3 separate regions of the Homo sapiens genome follow, and regions 2 and 3 are each linked to region 1. The links are contacts of gene promoters, found by promoter capture Hi-C in human tissues and cell types (Jung and others, 2019). All regions are on one chromosome and are shown on one strand. The core of a region is centred on a gene start or on the middle of the fragment in contact, and the rest is flanking DNA. Distances in the headings are between cores, read along the strand shown. Region 1 holds the start of SPIDR (scaffold protein involved in DNA repair). Region 2 overlaps PRKDC (protein kinase, DNA-activated, catalytic subunit). Region 3 overlaps PRKDC (protein kinase, DNA-activated, catalytic subunit).

The links. Contacts are between HindIII fragments. The study calls those that stand out against the background at their distance.
Region 2: a fragment that was not itself captured here is called in contact with the fragment with the promoter of SPIDR in region 1 in 1 of the 25 tissues and cell types used here (dorsolateral prefrontal cortex).
Region 3: a fragment that was not itself captured here is called in contact with the fragment with the promoter of SPIDR in region 1 in 1 of the 25 tissues and cell types used here (spleen).

Annotation. Positions count from the first base shown.
Region 1 is chr8:47,259,568-47,262,267 of GRCh38, reverse strand. It overlaps SPIDR (scaffold protein involved in DNA repair), which reads right to left and starts at 1,330. Exons shown (of 20, transcript NM_001080394.4): 1 at 1,277-1,330. The coding sequence starts at 1,309. RefSeq lists a silencer at 1,067-1,616. The HindIII fragment of the contact is 26,545 bases long and covers 1-2,700 here.
Region 2 is chr8:47,778,245-47,780,944 of GRCh38, reverse strand. It overlaps PRKDC (protein kinase, DNA-activated, catalytic subunit), which reads left to right. Exons shown (of 86, transcript NM_006904.7): 81 at 1,852-1,941; 82 at 2,146-2,217; 83 at 2,285-2,486. Among named protein-coding and RNA genes, the nearest start is that of CEBPD, 41 kb to the right of the region's middle. The HindIII fragment of the contact is 6,770 bases long and covers 1-2,700 here.
Region 3 is chr8:47,822,609-47,825,308 of GRCh38, reverse strand. PRKDC (protein kinase, DNA-activated, catalytic subunit) reads left to right here. Exons shown (of 86, transcript NM_006904.7): 64 at 1,313-1,451. Among named protein-coding and RNA genes, the nearest start is that of CEBPD, 86 kb to the right of the region's middle. RefSeq lists enhancers at 1-27, 2,622-2,700. The HindIII fragment of the contact is 5,482 bases long and covers 1-2,700 here.

The DNA.
Region 1 (2,700 bases), core at 81-2,580:
ATACTAAGATTTCTAAGTCAAGAGAAACTGTTAGGGCCTGGAGGACTAAGGGTGAGATGATGATTATGTGATGCACTAAGTTTGAGCTCTAGGGAAAGATCTAATATAGATCTGAAAGTCATCTATATAGTTAACTTCAATGTATGACATTGTCCAAAGCAAATATGGAACATGTGAAAAAGCACAAGGTCAAAAATTAGAACATGGCACGAACACAGTAAAGAGAAGAAAATGAGCTGTTGCAAGACAGGAAAACAATCATGGATGTTCCAAAAGAAATAAAAGCAGGTGGTGAATGTGTCAAACGCTCCAATGATCAAGTAAACAACTTACACTGGATTTAGCAAATTTATATATTTCCTTGATTTTTTTCACACATTAATGCTTCAGAAATCAGACTGTATCTTATAATCAAGAGGTGCCTGAAATGAATTTCTTTATTCCCTAAAGCCAGTCACAAAACTGATAGTGTGGGCTGATAATCAATGGTATTTGAGAAGCGAGAAAGCATGGTAGTGGTAAAGAAGTTGAACCAGTATATGTGGTCTATTTTTTCCAGGAAGTTTTCAAGTAAAGGCAAGAGTCAAGAAAGGAGGTCCTGTGTTTGCTTTTTAAAAACCGTTTTACTATGAGACAAACGTATTTGAAAGCAAGGAAGTTAGAAGAAACTTTAAAACGATAAAGGACACATGCCATGACAAGCACAATTAGCAGAACAAAAAAGGATGCACTCGCGGATACAGGTGCAATCAAACACCATTCAAGCAACGATTCCTAGGCACCCGCTCCCGTTCTGGAACCCGAGGCAGCGCGGTGCCCACGGATTGGGCAGTCAGCCGCACAGTCCCCTCCGAGTGCGGCAGGAAGAGAGACAGAGTTGACAGTGGATTATCCGCGGAGACGGGTAAAACCACGCCAGGATTCCCTGCGGTTTGGTACATTACACCAGAATCAAAAAGAGACAAGAGTAAGGCCAAGTACCCCCGAGGCGGACATATGCTCCCGCCCGCTGCGTCCCTCGGCGGTCCCACCCCTCGCTTTCCGTACCGCCGCTGAGGGCCCGGCCCGCACGCCTGGACCGGAGCCGGACCTGGGGGCGGTACCCCACTGCGCGGGCTTGCTCCACGCGCGCAGACGGGACCCGCCACCACCTAGCCCTTCACCCCCAACGCCCACCCTCTCTCACCCCAGCACAACGGGGCCAGCCCCGCGCCGGCCCGCCGCTTCCCCGCAACGCGGGAAACGGCGCGGCGCCCACTCCCGCCCCAGAGCCTACCTTAGAGCCCCGAGCGCGGCTGCCGCGGGGCATCTCCGGGAGCGCCGCCTGAGCGCACCGCCTCCTCAGCGCGCCGCCGTCCCACCTCGGCGCGCCGCACCGCGCCCTGCCATTGGCGGGCGCTCGGGCGCAGGGCGGGGCTTCGGCGGGGGGCAGGGCTTCTCCGGCCCCGGCGCTCCAGGGCCTCCCGGATGGCCTAGTCGGGCCCGGAGCCCGGAAGGAGTGCCCCGCGGAGAGTCGAGCTTCCTTCCCCGGGGCTGGGGGTTCCGCGGAGCTCGCTCTGGGCTGTGGCGTTGCTCGCCCGCGAGCTCCTGGGGAGTTCGGGGGAGCTGCTGGGCTGGTGCCTGGAGCGGGGGCCGCCTCCAAGTATTGTCTTTCGAATTAAGTTACTGTCGTCTGTGTTGTCAGGCAACAACTGACCTTAAATAAAAATGAAAACCAGAAGTAGGCTACACATGCAATAGGCTACACATGCAATAATGGATACTTAAGGAATGGGAGTGGCTGCTGGTGACTGGAGCAGAGAGGGTGTGGTTTCCCCATGTTTCGGGGCCGGGGGGAAGGAGTAAAGTCTGTGTTCAGAGCCCAGACGCCATGTCGGTCATCACATCACCGGGAGAACTCGTGGAGCCTGAGGAAAGGCTACGGGGTGCCAGAGTCTGAAGGGGCGGAAGATTGCATTCCTATCACGTTCGCCGTGGCGCACAGGGGCTCCGCTGGGGCCGCCGCTCCCGCAGGAGAAGTGGGCCTGAGACGGTGCGGCGTCGACCATAGCCGGCCCAGCAGAAGCCGGGGAAGGCCACAAGTGTAACTGGGTCCGAGTACTGTGAAGAAGGCGCCTCCCATGGAGAAAGCTACCGGGTAGTTTAACAAGGTGGAAAAGCGTTGGCCTGGGGAGGAGGAAAGGATGCTCAGAAAGTTGCCTCAAAAGGACGCAGAAGTGGAGGTGAATCTTCTGTTTCAGAGGCATTTTTTTGTGCCTCTGTGAGAATGCATTGCTTCCTGGTTGATCCATCTTCAGGTTTTCTCTCCGTCCTAGTCCCTGTTCTGCCACCATTCTGTGTTTGAATCTGGTACCTAAAGCCGCAGATACTTGGTTCATAGTAGATGTCCACTCTGCAGTGGCTGAAAACACGGAAGAAAAACCATCTTTGCCTGGGAAGGACATTATTGCTAGTGCCATTACTGTCAACAGTTGGAACAAGATAAACGGCATGCCCAATCTAGTTGAGGATTTTGGACACCGGGCCTCCCACTGGGACTCCGCCGAGAAACCAGGTCTGCCATTGCCACCTCCGCCGGGCCTTGCTGTCTTAGCACAGTAAGTGCACCCGACCGCGCCCGGAGTCCCCCTTTCACTCCCACAACCAGGCCTGTGGTGAGGCTCCCGCTTGTCATCTCCACCAGGAGGTGCTGTCCTGCCG
Region 2 (2,700 bases), core at 155-2,654, 520 kb before region 1:
GTTTTTTTGAGACAGAGTCTCTCTCTATCACCAGGCTGGAGTGCAGTGGCGTGATCTCGGCTCACTGTGGTCTCCGCTTCCCGGGTTCCAGCAATTCTCCTGCCTCAGCCTTCCGAGTAGCTGAGATTACAGGCGTGCACCACCATGCCCAGCTAATTTTTGTATTTTTAGTAGGGATGGGATTTCACTATGTTGGCCAGGATGATCTTGATCTCTTGACCTCGTGATCCGCCCCCATTGGCCTCCTAAAGTACTGGGATTACAGGCCTGAGCCACTGCGCCCGGCCTACAGTTTTATAACCTAAGAATTTTCATCTCAGTTTAAACTAGGAGGAGAGAATTTTAAGATGGAGTGGACTACTTTTAAAGCTAACTTTAATAGCAACTCAGAAAAGATTTCACCTGAAGTGATTGAATTGCTAAGTCACACGTGAAACTGTTCTGTCTTTAGATTTTATCGGGAAAACTTGTTAAAGCTTTCCACACAAAAGTACTTAAACATACGTGTATCACATTGTTTCCCATTGCCCAGGTACTGCCTTTTTCCTAGGAAACACTGAAAACAGCTTTTCAAGTTCACTTAAACATCCATTGTCATTTAAGAAAATATTTTCTCATAGGAGTGCAGAAGCCTTATTGGAAGAAAAAAGAAAAACAAAATATTTTCTCATACTTACTATGGATTGTGTGTATATCTACCTATTGGAAATATAAAGAAAGATGTGGCACTGGCTGGGCGCAGTAGCTCACGCCTGTAATCCCAGCACTTTGGGAGGCCAAGGTGGGCGGATCGCCTGAGGTCAGGAATTCGAGACCAGTCTGGTCAACATGGCAAAACCCTGTCTCTACTGAAAATAGAAAAATTAGCTGGGTGTAGTGGCGGGCGCCTGTAATCCCAGCCACTTAGGAGGCTGAGGCATGAGAATTGCTTGAACCCAGGAGGTAGAGGTTGTAGCAAGCCGAGATTGCACCAATGCACTCCAGCCTGGGCGACAGAGTAAGACTCTGTCTCAAAAAAAAAAAAAAAAAAAAGACAAAACAAAACAAAAGAAAAAGAGGCCAGGCGTGGTGGCTCACACCTGTAATCCCAGCACTTTGGGAGGCCGAGGCGGGCGGATCACGAGGTCAGGCATTCGAGACCAGCCTGGCCAACGTGGTGAAACCCCGTCTCTACTAAAAATACAGAAATTAGCTGAGCATGGTGGCATTTGCCTGTAATCCCAGCTACTCAGGAAGCTGAAGCAGGAGAATCACTTGAATCCATGAGGCAGAGGTTGCAGTGGGCCAAGATCGCACCACTGCACTCCAGCCTGGCGACAGAGCTAGACTCCCATCTCAAAAAAACAAAAGAAAAAGATGTGGAAGTGGTCTAAATAAAGATAAAAACAGACATAATCCATCTTTAGCAAAACTGTGCGGGCTTTTTGGCTATGGTAGTGACATGGCCTGAGGCTTCCAGCAGCCGCCTGTGGTGCTGTCGCCCTCTTGCTATGGTTCTTTCTAGGTCAAAGTTTCAGAATTGCATGCCTGGTTAATAAACAGTTATGTTTAGTTCATCTTATTCCTCTCTATGTCAGTGGGAAATTTGTTGGATCTGATGGTTTTGTACCTGAATTTTTCATAGGCAATAGCTTGGATTTCTTTAGGAGTAATTAAGAATGAATAATGGTATATTGAAATTCAAGATCCAGAGTAATGTGGGTTCAATGTTAATATTGAATATGGTTAAAAGTCTTATTATTTTTTCCTGCCTCTTTGCTATTTTTCAATGAATTCTTGGTGATCTTTGCCTTTGAAATCACATAATGCTAAAATCTTCCTAATTCCAATTCCCCTTTTCTCACTCATTAGTGATCCCAGGGCACCGCCGTGTGAATATAAAGATTGGCTGACAAAAATGTCAGGAAAACATGATGTTGGAGCTTACATGCTAATGTATAAGTAAGTTTGGTTTTGATTTTTCTTTGTATTAGTTAGTTCATTCTTCTGCAAATTGCATGTTTTCTTTTGATTCTTAGCTTTGCCTCAGAGAGATCATCAAGATTATTCGATATTTGAGTCTCAATATAAACAAAAAGTTTTAAAATTTAAATTTTAAGTCAGAGAAATTTTTTCTAATTAGATGTTTCTATTATTAAATCATAGGGGCGCTAATCGTACTGAAACAGTCACGTCTTTTAGAAAACGAGAAAGTAAAGTGCCTGCTGATCTCTTAAAGTAAGTACCCTTCTGCCCTCACCCTTAGTGGGATCACAGCAGCCGCACAGCTGTGTCTCTTTTGTAGGCGGGCCTTCGTGAGGATGAGTACAAGCCCTGAGGCTTTCCTGGCGCTCCGCTCCCACTTCGCCAGCTCTCACGCTCTGATATGCATCAGCCACTGGATCCTCGGGATTGGAGACAGACATCTGAACAACTTTATGGTGGCCATGGAGACTGGCGGCGTGATCGGGATCGACTTTGGGCATGCGTTTGGATCCGCTACACAGGTGCACTTGCTGTGCTCTCGTGATCCTGGGCAAGGCGAGAGTCATCATAGGACTTTCAACAACCTCCAGAAATAGACAGTTTTTAAGGAAAAACAACATATTAGTTAGATTCGTTTTGTCATGGTCATTGAATGCAGAAAGGGATAATCACTTAGTTCAGCCTCATTCAGTCAGGTCACAGAAGTCATGGTGATCAGTGATATCATCAGAGCCG
Region 3 (2,700 bases), core at 23-2,522, 560 kb before region 1:
CCGCCCCGGCCTCCCAAAGTGCTGGGATTGCAGCCATGAGCCACCACACCCGGCCTTAGCCTTTTTTTTGATATGTCATGGCCATTGTTCTAACCATGTTATAGTGAACATAATCCAGGGACAATGGAACCAGTATAGGGGTATGTAGGTGATCTCTTTCCTGAGTCTATGCAGAATGTAGCTCTCCCTCTTCCCTGACTCTGGGGCCATGAGCTGCTGCTCCATCACCTACCTACCCACCCACCTTTACTGCTGATTTATTACCCCTAACATTCTGTAATCAGGGCAATAAGAGAGCTGCATCTACTAGATTTTATTGAATTCAGAATTCATAAGCTCTAGGAGAGAACCTGTAGGGCTCTTTTGATGTAAATGCAAGAGGCTTAGTACCCAGAAGGGAACTGAACAGCAGGAGAACTAAGGAGGGAGCAGTCCTTGGCTGGCTGGTTTAGGAAGAAATAACATTTGGGTTGAGACTGCAAGATGGAAAGAAATTTCCTGGAGGAAGGGAACAAACCCCATAAACACTTTGAGAATATCATGGACTGGGAAGCTTGATTGAAAGGGTCAAGCCAGAATTTTGTTAAGGTAAAGAGATGAATGAATGCTCCAACAAATTGAGATGGTCCATAGAACATGGATTAAACATGGCATCAGTAGTCAGGATTATTTTTTCTTTTGCTTCTGGGTTTTTTGGAGCTAGACAAGGATTCCAAATGGTTCGCCTGTAGATATTATAATGGATTAATACTGGAGAACCTTATGTAATGACACATCTTATACACTGTGAACCTTTGATATTTTCAGATTCCACCTTTTTTTTTTTTTTTTTTTTTTTTTGAGGCGGAGTCTTGCTGTTGCCCAGGCTGGAGTGCAGTAGGGTGATTGGTTCACTGCAACCTCCACCTCCTGGGTTCAAGCAGTTCTCTGCCTCAGCCTCCCAAGTAGCTGGGACTACAGGCATGCGCCACCATGCCCAGCTAATTTTTTGTATTTTTAGTAGAGACGGGGTTTCACCATGTTGGCCAGGCTGATCTGAACTCCTGACCTCAGGTGAGCCGCCACGCCCGTCCCAGATTCCACTTTAAATGCACATCTGAATAATTTCTGGCTTATGTATGATTAAAGTTATAAAACCTAAGGGCAACTTCATAGTTTCTTAAATTTTATATTTTTAGCAAAATTAAAGTAACACTTTATGTCTCTTGTTAATATAATGTGTGGCAACTTGATTTACTATCATTTCATTAGAATAAATACTTTTAAAATACTGGAGTGTTCATTGATTTGGCCTTTTTGATTTGTTTTGTAGGCTGTATAGATCAATTGGAGAATACGACGTCCTCCGTGGGATTTTTACCAGTGAGATAGGAACAAAGCAAATCACTCAGAGTGCATTATTAGCAGAAGCCAGAAGTGATTATTCTGAAGCTGCTAAGCAGTATGATGAGGTAAAATTGATCTCTGGCAAAATATGACATTTACTTCAACACTTTTGTTTTCTGCTGAACTATGACTTTAAGCAAAACGAGGTACAGCAGATCCTTGTTGGTTCAATGTCTTTTCGTTACAATGTTGATGAGGAAGAAAATTGGTTTCCTTATAGGTTGTTCACTTAAGTTAGGGCCTACCATACTATGAAACTGTATATTATTTCTCTGCTCTTACACAGTTTCTGTTTGAATAGGTTGTTTTCTTTCAGTTAGTTAAAAAAAAAAATTATAAAGAAATTGTATTAGGCTGTTCTTGCATTTCTGTAGAGAAATACCTGACACTGGGCAATTTATAAAGAAAAGAGGTTTAATTGGTTCACGGTTCCACGGGCTGCACAGGAAGTATGGTGCTGCCTTCTGCTTGGCTTCAGGGGAGGCCTTGGGAAGCTTTTATGCATTGGTAGAAGGCGAAGCAGGAGTAGGCATTTCACATGGTGAAAGGCAGTAGCAAAAGAGAGACAGTTGGGGAGGGGGTGCCATATACTTTTATTTATTTAGAGGCAGAGTCTCATTCTGTCACCCAGGCTGGAGTGCAGTGGCACTATCATGGCTCCCAGGCTCCGGCGGTCCTCCCACCTCAGCCACCTGAGTAGCTGGGACTTCAGGCATGCACCAACATGCCTGGCTAATTTTTGAAATTTTTTTGTAGAGATGAGGTGTCACTATGTTGCCCAGGCTGGTTGGGAACTCCTGAGCTCAAGCCATCATGCCTGGGCCTCCCAAAGTGCTAGGATCACTCATCACCAAGGGAATGGCCCACTTCATTCATGAGGGATCTGCCCCCCATTGATCCAAACACCTCTCACCAGGCCCCACCTCTGACATTGAGGATTACATTTCAACATGAGGTTTAGGTGGGGACACATATTCAAATTACATCAGAGGTAAAGAAGAATTTGGGAAGATGAATATAAGTTCAGTTTTGTACATTCCGTCAGTGGCTATTCAAGTGTAGGTGTTGAAATTCAGGGTCTGTGACCTGTGAGACTCTTCAATGAGCAGTCCAGGTTTTGTTTGTTTGTTTGTTTTTGAGAGTCTCACTCTGTCGCCCACGCTGGAGTGCAGTGGCGCAATCTGGGCTCACTGCAAGCTCTGCCTTCCGGGTTCACGCCATTCTCCTGCCTCAGCCTCCCGAGTAGCTGGGACTACAGGTGCCCGCCACCACGCCCGGCTAATTTTTTGTATTTTTAGTAGAGATGGGGTTTCA